Linked DNA regions of Homo sapiens: region 2 is linked to region 1. Evidence: promoter capture Hi-C in 16 types of primary human blood cells and fetal thymus (Javierre and others, 2016). All regions are on one chromosome and are shown on one strand. The core of a region is centred on a gene start or on the middle of the fragment in contact, and the rest is flanking DNA. Distances in the headings are between cores, read along the strand shown.

The links. Contacts are between HindIII fragments. The CHiCAGO score rates a contact against its expected background, and 5 or more counts as called.
Region 2: a contact is called between a fragment that was not itself captured here and the fragment with the promoter of BPHL in region 1, in 3 of 17 cell types (non-activated CD4 T cells, fetal thymus and activated CD4 T cells). The highest score is 7.5, in non-activated CD4 T cells.

Annotation. Positions count from the first base shown.
Region 1 is chr6:3,116,627-3,122,573 of GRCh38, forward strand. BPHL (biphenyl hydrolase like) reads left to right here and starts at 2,085. Exons shown (of 7, transcript NM_004332.4): 1 at 2,085-2,221. The coding sequence starts at 2,115. LOC107986556 (a long non-coding RNA gene) reads right to left here and starts at 2,021. Exons shown (of 4, transcript XR_001743928.3): 1 at 1,163-2,021. RefSeq lists an enhancer at 1,319-1,954 and a silencer at 1,993-2,382. The HindIII fragment of the contact is 8,418 bases long and covers 1-2,993 here.
Region 2 is chr6:4,136,632-4,143,199 of GRCh38, forward strand. ECI2-DT (ECI2 divergent transcript) reads left to right here. Exons shown (of 4, transcript NR_103764.1): 2 at 730-771. It overlaps LOC107986559 (a long non-coding RNA gene), which reads right to left and starts at 5,171. Exons shown (of 2, transcript XR_001743933.2): 1 at 5,063-5,171; 2 at 3,703-3,851. The HindIII fragment of the contact is 5,893 bases long and covers 1-4,765 here.

The DNA.
Region 1 (5,947 bases), core at 835-3,334:
GTGGATCACCTGAGGTCAGGAGTTTGAGACCAGCCTGGCCAACATGGCAAAACCTCGTCTCTACTAAAATTACAAAAATTAGCCGGGCATGGTGGCGGGTGCTTGTAATCTCAGCTACTCAGGAGGCTGAGGCAGGAGAATTGCTTGAACCTGCGAGGCAGAGGTTACAGTGAGCTGAGATTGCGCCATTGCACTCCAGCCTGGGCAACAAGACCAAAACTCCGTCTCAAAAAAAAAAAATTGTGACACCAATAACCTAAAACTCAGTGCTACCGTTTTTTATTAGCACAAGGGTAACTGGTGTTGAAACTGTACAGACAGCTATTTTTATCATTTCTGAGATGAAACCCCAATCAACATATCAGGAAAAAAGGAAATACTGACCTCACCAAAGATTTCTGAAAGTCAAACGATATTAAACTCAAACATTATATATGTCTCTTTCCTTTTATGCAGGAATTAATGTGATAGATTTATGTTGAGAGTAGAATATGAAAACTTTTGCATAGTCTGTATTTAGGCCAAAACTGCCTTTACTACTCAAGAAAGTCCAATGGGCCAGTGAGGACACTGCAGGTGACAGAAATTTCTATGAGTGTAACACCTACAAGCACTGTGCTCACAGGACTGACTGTTACACCAAAAAGGTCTCTTGGAGGAGAAGAAATGCAATATGCAAAGAAGCTGTTGTCTCCAATTATTCAAGCCAAGGCTACAACAGTAGCCACAAATCTGCCAGTTATTTCCAATTAAGGCAGAACGATTGACTTAAAAAGCAATAGTTGTTTTTTTTCTCCACTGAGCTTTCAATTAGATAATGTCTATAACCTTTATAAAGCTGCAATTATACAGCCAAAAGAAAAAAAATTAATTGTGGTAAAACATACATAAAACTTACCACTTAAACCACTTTTAGGTGTGTAGTTCAGTGGCAGTAAGTACACTCACAATGTAATGCAGGCATCACCAAAATCCATCCCCAGGACTTTTTCATCTCTCCAAACTGAAACTCTGTCCCCATGAAACACCAACTTTCCATTCCCCCTTCCACCAGCCCTCAACAACCCCCATTCTATTTTCTGTCCCTATAAGTTTGACTCCTCTAGGTACCTTATTATATAAGTGGAATCACACAGTATTTGTCTTTTTTTGACTGGCTTACCTCCCTCAGCATAGTGTCCTCCAGGTTCATCCATGTAGTAGCAAGTGTCAGAATTTCGTTCTTTGTTCAGGCTAAAAAATGTTCCCTTGCATGCACAGACAACATTTTGCTTATCCATGTATCTGTTTTTGGACACTTAAATTGCCTCCACCCTTTTGGCTATTGTGAATAGTGCCGCTGTCAACGTGAGTGTAAAAACATTTCTTCTTGTACACCCTGTTTTAAATTCTTTTGGGTTATATACCCAGAAAAGAAAATGCTGGATCATATAACTGATTTGTTGAGGAACCGCAGTATTGTTCATCACATGGCTGCACCATTTTACATTCCCAACAGCAATATACAAGGGCTTCAATTTCTCTACATCTTCACCAACACTAATTTCTGGGGGTTTTGCTAGTAGCCATCCTAATGGGCGTGAAGTGGTATAAACAAAATTTAGATCCCATCATCTCCGAAAAGCAAATACACTTCCTAGTACTAGTCAGTACTAAATAGGTGCACAGCGTTTAGAACTTTACTTGATCCAACATAGCAGCCTGCCTAGAGCCGGAGCCCCGCCCACTCCGGAGTCCCGCCTGGACGCCGACGCAGCGAGGGCGCTATGGCTGGCGGCCTCGCCTCCTGGAAAGGCCATGGTCGCTGAGGCGACGAGCGAGGGCGGGGCAGCGCCGACGGGGACACTCATCCCGGGAGCCAGAGCCAGCACCGAGAGGGGACGGTCTACGCGGGTGCCGGCGGTTCCAGGACTGCGAAACCACGAGCCGAGTTTCGGTCGCCCATGGGAAAGCACCCGGCAGGGCGTGGCTTCGGGGCGGGGCGGGCAGAGGGCGGAGCAGGATGGAGAGGCGAGGTGGGCGGAGCAGAGGGCGTGGCTTCGGGGCAGAGTGGGCCGGGTACCGCGCTTGGTCTTAGCGCATGCGCACTCCCGGCAGCTACGCGACCTGTGACCATGGTGGCTGTGCTGGGCGGCCGGGGCGTGTTGCGCCTGCGGCTGCTTCTCTCAGCGCTGAAGCCCGGGATCCACGTCCCACGGGCCGGACCCGCGGCCGCGTTCGGGTAATGGCGGCCACCTCGCCCCGGGGATCCCCAGCATCGGCGCGCTCGAGGGGCGGCGGGAGGGGCGCGTGCCGACAGCAGGAGTTCCCGGCGCGCGGGCACGGGGCGTGGGCGCGGCCTGGCTGCCCTGTCGCCCTTTGTGCCGCGAGACCCCGATCCTGGGGGCCAGCCGCGCTTGGTGCTCGAGCCCCTCGATCGTGCATGCGCCTCGGTCAGCCTCAGTTCAAGGAGTCTGGAGCCGTGGAGGCTTGGGCTATAGAGTGCAGCCCCTTCAGTGTGCAGACCAGAGAGACCCAGGGAGATACATTTGCCTGTAGTATGGACTCACCCGTGACGGAGCACGGACTAGAATCCCAACGCCCTCATTAGTCCATTGCTCTGTCCAGAGTCCACACTAAGGGCATAAGGACAATAATCTCTTCTTTCTCTTATGTCAGAAATCAGCCTGAGCCTGAGTACCGCTAAGGCTTTAATCACGGGTCCCGAGAGCCCTAAGTCTTCTCTTTGCTTGCTGATCTCGTACCTTAATGTGCAAAAGAATCACGTTGGGAACTGAAAATTCAGAATCCTGGGCCTCACTCCCAGAGGATCTGATCTACATGTGTGGAGATGCCCAGGAATCTGCTTTATTCTCTTTTGTCCTCCCACCTGTCCCCCCATTTCAGGTAAAACAATAACAAAAAAACTGGATTAATTTCTGACCTTCTGTCTTGAAAATGGATACTCTTGGTCCCAAGAGATACTGGGCAGAAATGTGGATAGAGCGGCATGAAGCTTGTTTTACTTTATTCTCTACATACATCCCTACACACATGCAAACACACGTATACAACGAACGTACACAGTGCATGTGCGCAGTTGACTGTTGATGGGCTACTTTCATAAAGTCAGTACTAGATAGGTACACAGCGTTTAGAACTGTACTTGATCCAACATAGAAACTTTTAGTTTGAAAACTTGATTTAGAAGGAGAAAAGAGGGCAAATCTGACCAGCTTTTAAAATTTCATATTGCAATTGACTAGCTCCTTTAATTTTAGAATTATTATAAGATGGTCAGGGCTATTTTGATAGATGGAAAAACATGTTAATGGCTACAGCTGTATAAATTAACAGTGAAAATGATTATTTTTTCCAGTTTCCTGTCTGCAGAAAGGCATCGAAATAAGTTACTGTGATTGTACCAATATAGTTCTTTTTTTTTTTGAGACTGACTCTCGCTCTTTTGCCCATGCTGGAGTGCAGTGTTGTGATCTCGCTCACTGCAACCTCTGCCTCCCAGGTTTAAGCGATTCTCGTGGCCTCAGCCTCCCGAGTAGCTGGGATTACAGGTACCTGCCACCATGCCCGGCTAATTTTTGTGTTTTTAGTAGAGATGGGGTTTCACCATGTTGGCCAAGCTGATCTCGAACTCTTGACCTCAAATGATCCACCTGCCTCAGCCTCCCAAAGTGCTGGGATTACAGGCGTGAGCCACCGCTCTCGGCCTACCAGTATAGTTCTGATAGGTTATTTAATGGTTGAGGAAGGCCCCATCCATCTAGTTGCATTGCAGATCATTCTTCCTAAAATATCTCTGAAGAAACAGGTTTTTCTGGATTTTGTACGGCCGTTTTATAAATGCAGCTGCAAGTTGATATGACATATAATCTGGGAAAACAAGCAGTGGTATTAGTTAATCCTGAAATGCAGCTGTAGCTCAGTGTCAGTAGGTAAAAGGATTCGTGTAAAAACTTTGCTTCAGAATAGCCAGTGCCCAACCTACAACTGACTTTTGTTCCAAAAACTTGTTTGTAAGTCTGCTGTTTGGAACTTTGACCCTTATTTCAAAATCCGTAAGGTGATTTATTCCTGGGTCAGGTCAAGAAAAGCCTTTTCTACCTGAAATTGGATATTATGTGCAGTTATAAATATTAATAATTCACATAACCTAACAATCTTCCTAAAAAATATTTTCCAAGTTCAACCTTGGGATGCCCTGCCAGAGAATCAGAGACTGTCCTTCTGCTGACGCTTGCCACCACGCTGTATCTGGCAGTCAGAGTGTGGCCCCGGTGCCTGAGCCCTCTTAGGACTCTGTTCAGCCATGAGGTTAGAGAGGAATCATGGCCTCTGGAGTTCTAATGGCCCCGTGGCCACTTCCTAGCTCTGTGAGTGTGGGCAGATTGTTCAACCTCTCTGAGCCTCCTGCCTTGCAGCGTTTTTGTGAGGATTTGAAACAATAAATGTAAAAGCCTGGGGATATAATAAACATGAAGTAATTAGTAGGCACAATGGGAATATTTATATAATAGTACAATATATAAGAGATGTAAAAATAATTCATCAAGATTCATGCAAATTTCAAGCCCTGAAGGTAGCAAATACTTTATTGTAGATAATGGCTACTTCACAAAACATACACAAAAGAAATAGCTGAACATACAATATGATAATAGCAGTTTCTTTTTTTTTTTTTTTTTTTTTTTTTTTGAGACGGAGTCTCTCTCTGTCACCAGGCTGGAGTGCAGTGGCACGATCTCGGCTCACTGTAATCTTCACCTCCCAGGTTCCAGCGATTCCCCTGCCTCAGCCTTCTGAGTAGCTGGGATTACAGGTGTGCACCACCATGCCGGGCTAATTTTTTTGTGTGTATTTTAGTAGAGATGGCGTTCCACCATGTTGGGCAGGATGGTCTTGATCTCCTGACCTCGTGATCCTGACCTCGTGATCCACCCACCTGGGCCGCCCAAAGTATCGGGATTACAGGTGTGAGCCACCACACCTGGCCGATCCTAAGCTATCTTAACTGTAGAAATGAATTTCTCAGAGGAATAGGGCAGTAATCATAATAAGTAAATGGCAGAGTCAGTATTGCCATTGCTTGGTGGCTTCATTGATGCCCCTTTAATAATATTTCTGTAGATAAGGAGCTTATAGTTTAGTCAGACCTTATTACTACCCAATTCTGTCTTTTATTTTTCCAGAAATGGTATGTTAAGAGTAGATGTACCTGTATTCAACACATCTGTTTCCACGTTTGTTTCTTTTTTACTTGAGACTGGCAAATAAGATTAAACCAAAAGATAAAACAGGACCTCATTTTTTCAAAAGGGCTGTGTTTCAGTTATCCTTTGACTAAGGGCAGAGGTAGGAGTAGAGAGTATGTAGAAGAAAAAGGAGATGGGCCGGGCCTGTAATCCCAGCGCTTAGGGAGGCTGAGGCAGGCAGATCACGAGGTCAGGAGATTGAGACCATCCTGGCTAACAGGGTGAAACCCCGTCTCTACTAAAAATACAAAAAAATTAGCCGGGCGTGGTGGCGGGTGCCTGTAGTCCCAGCTACTTGGGAGGCTGAGGCAGGAGAATGGTGTGAACCCGGGAGGTGGAACTTGCAGTGAGCCGAGATGGCGCCACTGCACTCCAGCCTGGGCGACAGAGTGAGACTCCATCTCAAAAAATAAATAAATAAAAATAAAAATAAAAGGAGATGGTGGTTGATTTCATTGTATTGGCACTCCACCAGGAGAAGAGAGCGCCTCCTTCTGGCATCTGTCCTGGCTTGCCATCATGTCCCTCCTGTGCTTCACTCAGTCATCTGTCTGATAAGCTGTGGGAAGGCTGATGGAGCCTGGTCCTGGTGCAGGGGCCGTCTGTGTGCCCCACTGGTATATATCCCAGGACAGTCTGGCTGTCCTCGAAGAGCAGCTGAGGAGAGGTTAATCAGAACACCTGTACGGCACCCATAA
Region 2 (6,568 bases), core at 569-3,068, 1.0 Mb after region 1:
GGCTAATTGTAAGTCTTTGGACAACCCTGTAAGGAAAATGATATTGCCCTGTTGAGCTGATGTGGAAATTGCCCTGTTGAGCATATTGCCCTGTTGAGCTGATGTGGAAACTGAGACCCAGAAAGATTAATCAGGTGAATTCCCCAAAGACAGGAGGCTTGCAGGTGGGCAGAGTCCAAGTCTCAAGTAACTTTATCATTAAGTTTCATCAGGTAGATCTGGGTAATAGTGTAGATGGGGCAACACCAAAAGTCAAATAGAACAATTTGGGCTTATCCCAAAGAGATTTTTTTTTTTTTGAGATGGAGTTTCCGTCTTGTTGCGTAGGCTGGAGTGCACTGGCACAATCTCGGCTCACTGCAACCTCCACCTCCTGGGTTCAAGTGATTCTCCTGTCTCGGGCTCCCGAGTAGCTGGGATTACAAGCATGCGCCACCAGGCCCGGCTAATTTTTTGTATTTAGTAGAGATGGGGTTTCACCTTGTTGGTCAGACTGGTCTCAAACTCCTGATTTCAGGTGATCCACCCGCTTCGGCCTCCCAGTGTTGGGATTACAGGTGTGAGCCACCACACCTGGCCTCTCCATATATTACAAAGTGGTAGTTGGTAGGCTGAGCTGCCTCTCTCAGAGACCTTGACTCTCTCCAAGGCTGTTAGATAACCTCAGAGGTAATGGAAATGCAGTAATCAGATATTGCAGATAATACAAGACTCATTCATTTCCAGAAGATGAAACAGCTGTCATGGAAATATTTTTTAAATCTCATACTGGTAAGCATATTTTGATAGTGAAACCTTTTGCAATGCAAGCAAACTACTCTCAGGCTTATACCTACCACAGAAAAGAGTGGGGTGTGGGAAATTAGCTTATCTTTTTCAAACTATAATTTTAAAAATATAGAAAGAGCATGTGTCAAAGATTTACTTAGCTCATTAATTAGGGAACCAACAGGGTGCTAAAGAAGAAGTTAAAAGACTAGTTTAATATAGTCAATGTTAAAAAAAGAATGCTGGAATAGATTGCAAAGTTAGAAACAAAACTGGTTAATATCCCATAGAGCAATAAAACCATAACCTCGGGAGGAATGTTTTTCCTATTGGAGAAATCATTTGCATATCTACCAGCTGTCATTTACTAAAGCCCCATTATATCCAGCATTTGAGAGAAAGGAGATGGTTAAAGAGACAGACATTCCTGGTTAAAGAGACAGACATTTAGATTCCTAGATCCTAAAGAGGGTCATCTTGGGTCCGTATTTGGTTTACTAAACTGTTAAGAGGTGTCCAGACCATGCCTTGTAAACATGGCTGCCATGGCCCTGTGGGTGGGAGGGCCAGTTGCAGCAAAAGGGAACCATTGTGATTTTGGTAGATTCTCCACCTGAGCTTGAAGATCATTGTATCTGTGCTAAGGAGTTTGGATTCCGTGCTGAGAGCAAGCAGAGAGCCATTGAAGATACAATTGGCATGCCCAGCTATCCAGTTCTCAGTGAAATCCTGGACTCCAGATATATCTTCAGGGTGTAATGGTTCTGGATAAGAGTAGGAAAGGCAGAAACTCAGTCAAGACCTCTCTAAAGCTCTAATCTTCACCCTGTTATATAACCAGCTTCCCCTGGAGCTTATGAAAATCTTGGGGAGGGGGTCCTCCAGTCTGGTTAGATCCTGTCTTATTGATTGCAGGGGACTGATGCTGCCTGGGAGGGCCGTTGATGTTCTTTGGGTTGAGAGAATCTCAGACTCTCTTAGCAGGTGCACAGGAAGTGTTGTCTCCGGCTATAATGAATCTTTGGGGTCAGCATATCGACTTCACAGTGTTGTGCTCAGTGGTAGTGTGAATGTTTCTTTTTTAAGATCATAGAATAGATTATATCAGAGTAGAATGTTACATGATGACTCTGTCAGTCATGATAATTTTTATTTCCAATATTTACATCATCAGATACTGTTGTTACAGCATGTACAGAGTCTGTCACATTCAGTCTTGAGGAACAATTCTGATACACTGTCCCAATTAACAGTGCAAGCTAGAAACCTGGAAGAGTCTTTGATTCCCTTACCTCACTGACACCTCACATCTATCATTCATCAAATACTAGTGATTCTGTCTCCTAAATATATTTTTTTAATTTTCCCCCTCATCTCACATCCCTCTGCATCGTCTTAATTCATGCTCTCATTGATTTTGAGATTACTGTTACCTGGATTCCTGTAGCAGCCACTTCCCAGTTTTGCTAATTCAGTTACCTCTGCAATCCATTCTCTCCCTGCTTCCAGGCTGGTCTCCCTAAATTTTAAATCTTACACTCCACACGATTCTCCCCGATCTCTCCCCTTGGCTGAAAATCTCTTAGTGAGTCCCCTTTGCCTGTTAAACAAACCCAAGCTGCTTAGCACTGGCAAATAAGGCCCACAAGATTTGCCCTTGCCTACCTTCTCAGGCACCTCTTTCCAGCCCCACATGTTAACTTCCCATTTCAGGTGAACTTGGGATGCTCAGTTTCTCTGAGTTTCCAGGTTCTCTCATTCCAGGCATTGGCATATCCAGGAATCTCCTCTGACCCACCCACTGGTTAGTCCTGTCCTGAGTTCCTACAGTCTCCTGGGCGTTTCTTTCTTCTGGCCCCTATGTCACTGTGTTTTATATCTGATTAGTAATCTATTTTATTACAAGGGGCATATCCTGGGAAGAATTCTACCCTGTATTCAACCCCTTTCTCATTTCTGGACACACTGCTTGACAGAAAATACTGTACTCTGTGAAGGTTTGTTGGATGATGGATGAGCTGTTGAAAGTTTCCTTCTAGAGCGTGCTTTTCCACATTTGATAATAAGTTGTGAGTCAGTTGCTACCTTTTCATTAAGTTGTCAGAAGGTGTTAACATGAGTGTTTTTGTGGTTTGAAATGTTGCTTTTTCAGTGAGTGGTAGCTAAAGGCAGAGGACTTTGACTGTTGCCAAGTTCCTGTGCCGAAATGAACTGGGGAGAGTGGTACGAAGGCAACTGTGGTGTTACTTAACTCTATAAATTTCTGGGTGAAAAATCTATTATAGCTTTTTCCATTAGTCATTAAAATGATTAGTCCACGTTCAACGTTCTGTATCATAATTGTTTCCTGCTTTAGCTGGATGACATTGCTTGAGATAAATTAAACCTGTGGCATTATTATGTCTCCTTTACAAAATTAATCCTCTTTTCTTCTTCCTAGCTAGGCTTTGTATTGCCTTCCTACACAATCTTATATGTCAGAGATATTAAAAATAGTATGCTGGAATATTACCTGCTTTGGGGTGTTTTTCTTATTTCCCATCGTTATAATTTAGAGAAGAAAGTCATTTCAAAAGTAAACATTTGGCTCATGTTATCACCTCTGTCTAAGTGCTTTACACCTGCGTGATTTGTTCATTCATCCAAGGCTCTTTTATCCACTCTTTCTGTATGTTGCACAAGCATTAACCTGACCTTGTATTTGAGGATACTTTTCAACTATCCTTCTGTAGCAAAAAAAAAAAAAAAAAATTATTTTTGGAGGACTCTCCCTCTGAAAATGATTGGAACTGATAGATACACTGTGTAAGAAATGGCTGCTTTTCTGAAGTCATTCCATTTTTTCTTGTTTACACCACAGCTTAAATTAATTTACCTGTCCTAATGAATACATAAGAACAAGAACAATACCTACAATTTAGTTAACCACAGAGAGCCACAAAGACAATTATATGTATTCAACACAATGTCATATAATTTACATGCATTTAAGGGCTGAGAAGAATGTTCAAGAATGGCATCCGTGGTTCGTAGGCAGGTGGTATCCTTATTGACTCAGCAAAGGTGCTCCTGCCTTCTCTGTTCTGCACAAGAAAGAAGTAAATTTAAAATTCCATCCATAAATCAGCAGCTTGACTTTAAATAAGATTAGAAAAACATAGTCAATCCTTATTTTTCGTAGTTTGTGTATTTGAGAGTTTGCCTACTTGCTAAAATTTATTTGTAAACTTTATTTTTATTTATTTATTTATTTATTTATTTTTTTGAGATGGAGTCTTGCTCTCTCTCCCAGGCTGGAGTGCGGTGGCATGATCTCAGCTCACTGTAGCCTCCACCTCCTGGGTTCAAGTGATTCTCTAGCTTCAGGGTTCAAGTGATTCTCTAGCCTCAGCCTCCAGAGTAGTTGACACTACAGGCATGCACCACCATGCCTGTCTAATTTTTTTGCATTTTTAGTAAAGACAGGGTTTCACCATGTTGGCCAGGCTGGTCTTGAATTCCTGACGTCAGGTGATCCACCTGCCTTGGCCTCCCAAAGTGCTGAAATTACAGGTGTGAGCCACTGCACCCGGCCTATTTGTAAACTTTAAATCAATACTCATGGGGCATTTGCAACATGTCTGGAGTGTTGGAAAATTTGATTTGCCCGAAGCACATATTCACAGCTGAGGTCAAACAAGGTGACCTTCTGCCTTCTTATTTCAACTGTCATACTGTAAATAAATGTCCTTATGGGGTTTACTTAATGCTACATATTTTCATATTTTTGTGCTTTTTTTGGTGATTTGCTGTTTAAAATGGCCTGCAAGCATAATGCTGAATTGCTATCTAGTGTAAAAGCAATAAGGCTGTGATGTGCCTCATGGAGAAAATGTGAGCTAGACTTCCTTCAGGCCTGAGTTTATAATGCTGTTAGCAAATTCAGTATTATTGAATCAACTATATACATATATATGTACTTTAAATGATGTGTCTTTCCATAGAAACACATCGGATAAGCTTATGATGAAAATGTAACCAGAGACTCAAAGGAACCTAATCCTGGATTACCTCTAGAAACAATGGTTCACTATTGACTTATTCAGTGTTTGCTATGACTTTAGAAAATCTAATTATCATGAATAATGAGAATTAACTGTATATGCAGCTGTCTTAGGTTAGAGTCTCCCAGAAGCAGACCCCAAGAGAGGAGTTTATTTGGGGAATGATTCCAGGAAACCTTGGTGTAGGAGTAGAGAATTAAAAGAGACAAGGAAAGGCAGGCAATAAAGGGTAAAATCATTAAGCAAGTTACCTCTGTGGACAACTGACACTCAATTCTACTATAGTAGCCTGGGTGCCAGTGAAGAGCATGTGCCTCAGGTGTCCTTCCTGAAGGGAGAGAAAGGTAAGATATTTCTAAGTATTTGGGGATTTTTTTTTTTTTTTTTTTTTTTAATGAGACAGAATCTCACACTGGCCCCAGGCTGGAGTGCAGTGGTGCGATCTCAGCTCACCACAGCCTCCTCCTCCTGGGTTCAAGGCATTCTCCTACCTCAGCCTCCCAAGTAGCTGGGACTACAGGCGCCCACCACCATGCCTAGCTAATTTTTTGTATTTTTAGTAGAGACAGGGTTTCACTGTGTTAGCCAGGCTGGTCTCAAACTCCTAATCTCATGATCCTCCCACCTTGGCCTCCCAAAGTGCTGGGATTACAGGCATGAGCCACTGTGTCCCGCTGTATTTGGGGATTTTTCGTGATCTTTCTCTTATCTCTAGTTTAATTCCACTGTACTCCAAGAACATTCTTTGTATGAATTCAATTCTTTTACATTTGTTAGTTTTATATCCAGTAGTATGTGGCCTATCGCGGTGAACATTCCATGTGTTGTCAAAAGAATATGCATCCTATCATTCATTGTCACTTACTGACTTTGTGTCTCCTTGTTCCATAAATTACTGAGAGAGGAATGTTGATGTCGCCATATGTAATTGTAAATGTGACTATTTCTCTATTCAGTTCAATCAGTTTTTGCTTCATGCATTTTGGAGTTCTGTTGTTAGGTGGATACAAACTGATGACTGTATGTCTTCTTGATGAATTGACCTTTATTATTTTGTACTGTCCCTTTTTATCCCTGGTAAGTAATTTTCCTTTATATGAAGTCTATTTTTTATATTAATGTAGACAACACAGCTTTCTTTTGATTAGTGTTTGCATGGTTTATCTGTTTTTATTCTTTGACTTTTAATATATGTGTATCATTATATTTAAAGTGGGTTTCTTGTAGACAACATATAGTTGTTTGTTTTTTTAAAAATCCAATCTGACAATCTTTGTTTTTTAAATGATATATTTAGACCATTTACATTTGATGTGATTATTGATATAATTAGATGTAGACCTCCTATTTTGTTATTTTTCTGTTTGTTTTTGCTTTTCTCTTCTCCCTCCTTACCATCTTCGAATTATTTTTAGTATTCCATTTTAACTTATCCATTAGGATGATTTGTTTGTTTGTTTGTTTGTTTTGTTTTGGCTTTATGTCTGTATTAGTCCATTCTCACACTGCTATAAAGAACTACCTGAACTGTAATCCCAGCACTGTGGGAGGCTGAGGCAGGTGGATCGCTTGAGCTCAGGAGTTTGAGACCAGCCTGGGCAATGTGGTGAAATCCCATCTCTACAAAAAATACAAAAAAATTAGCTAGACTTGGTGGCACATGCCTGTACTCCCAGCTACTCAGGATACTGAGGTGGAGGATTGCTTGGGCCCAGAAGGCAGAGGTTGAGCTGAGATTGTGGCACTGCATTCCAGCC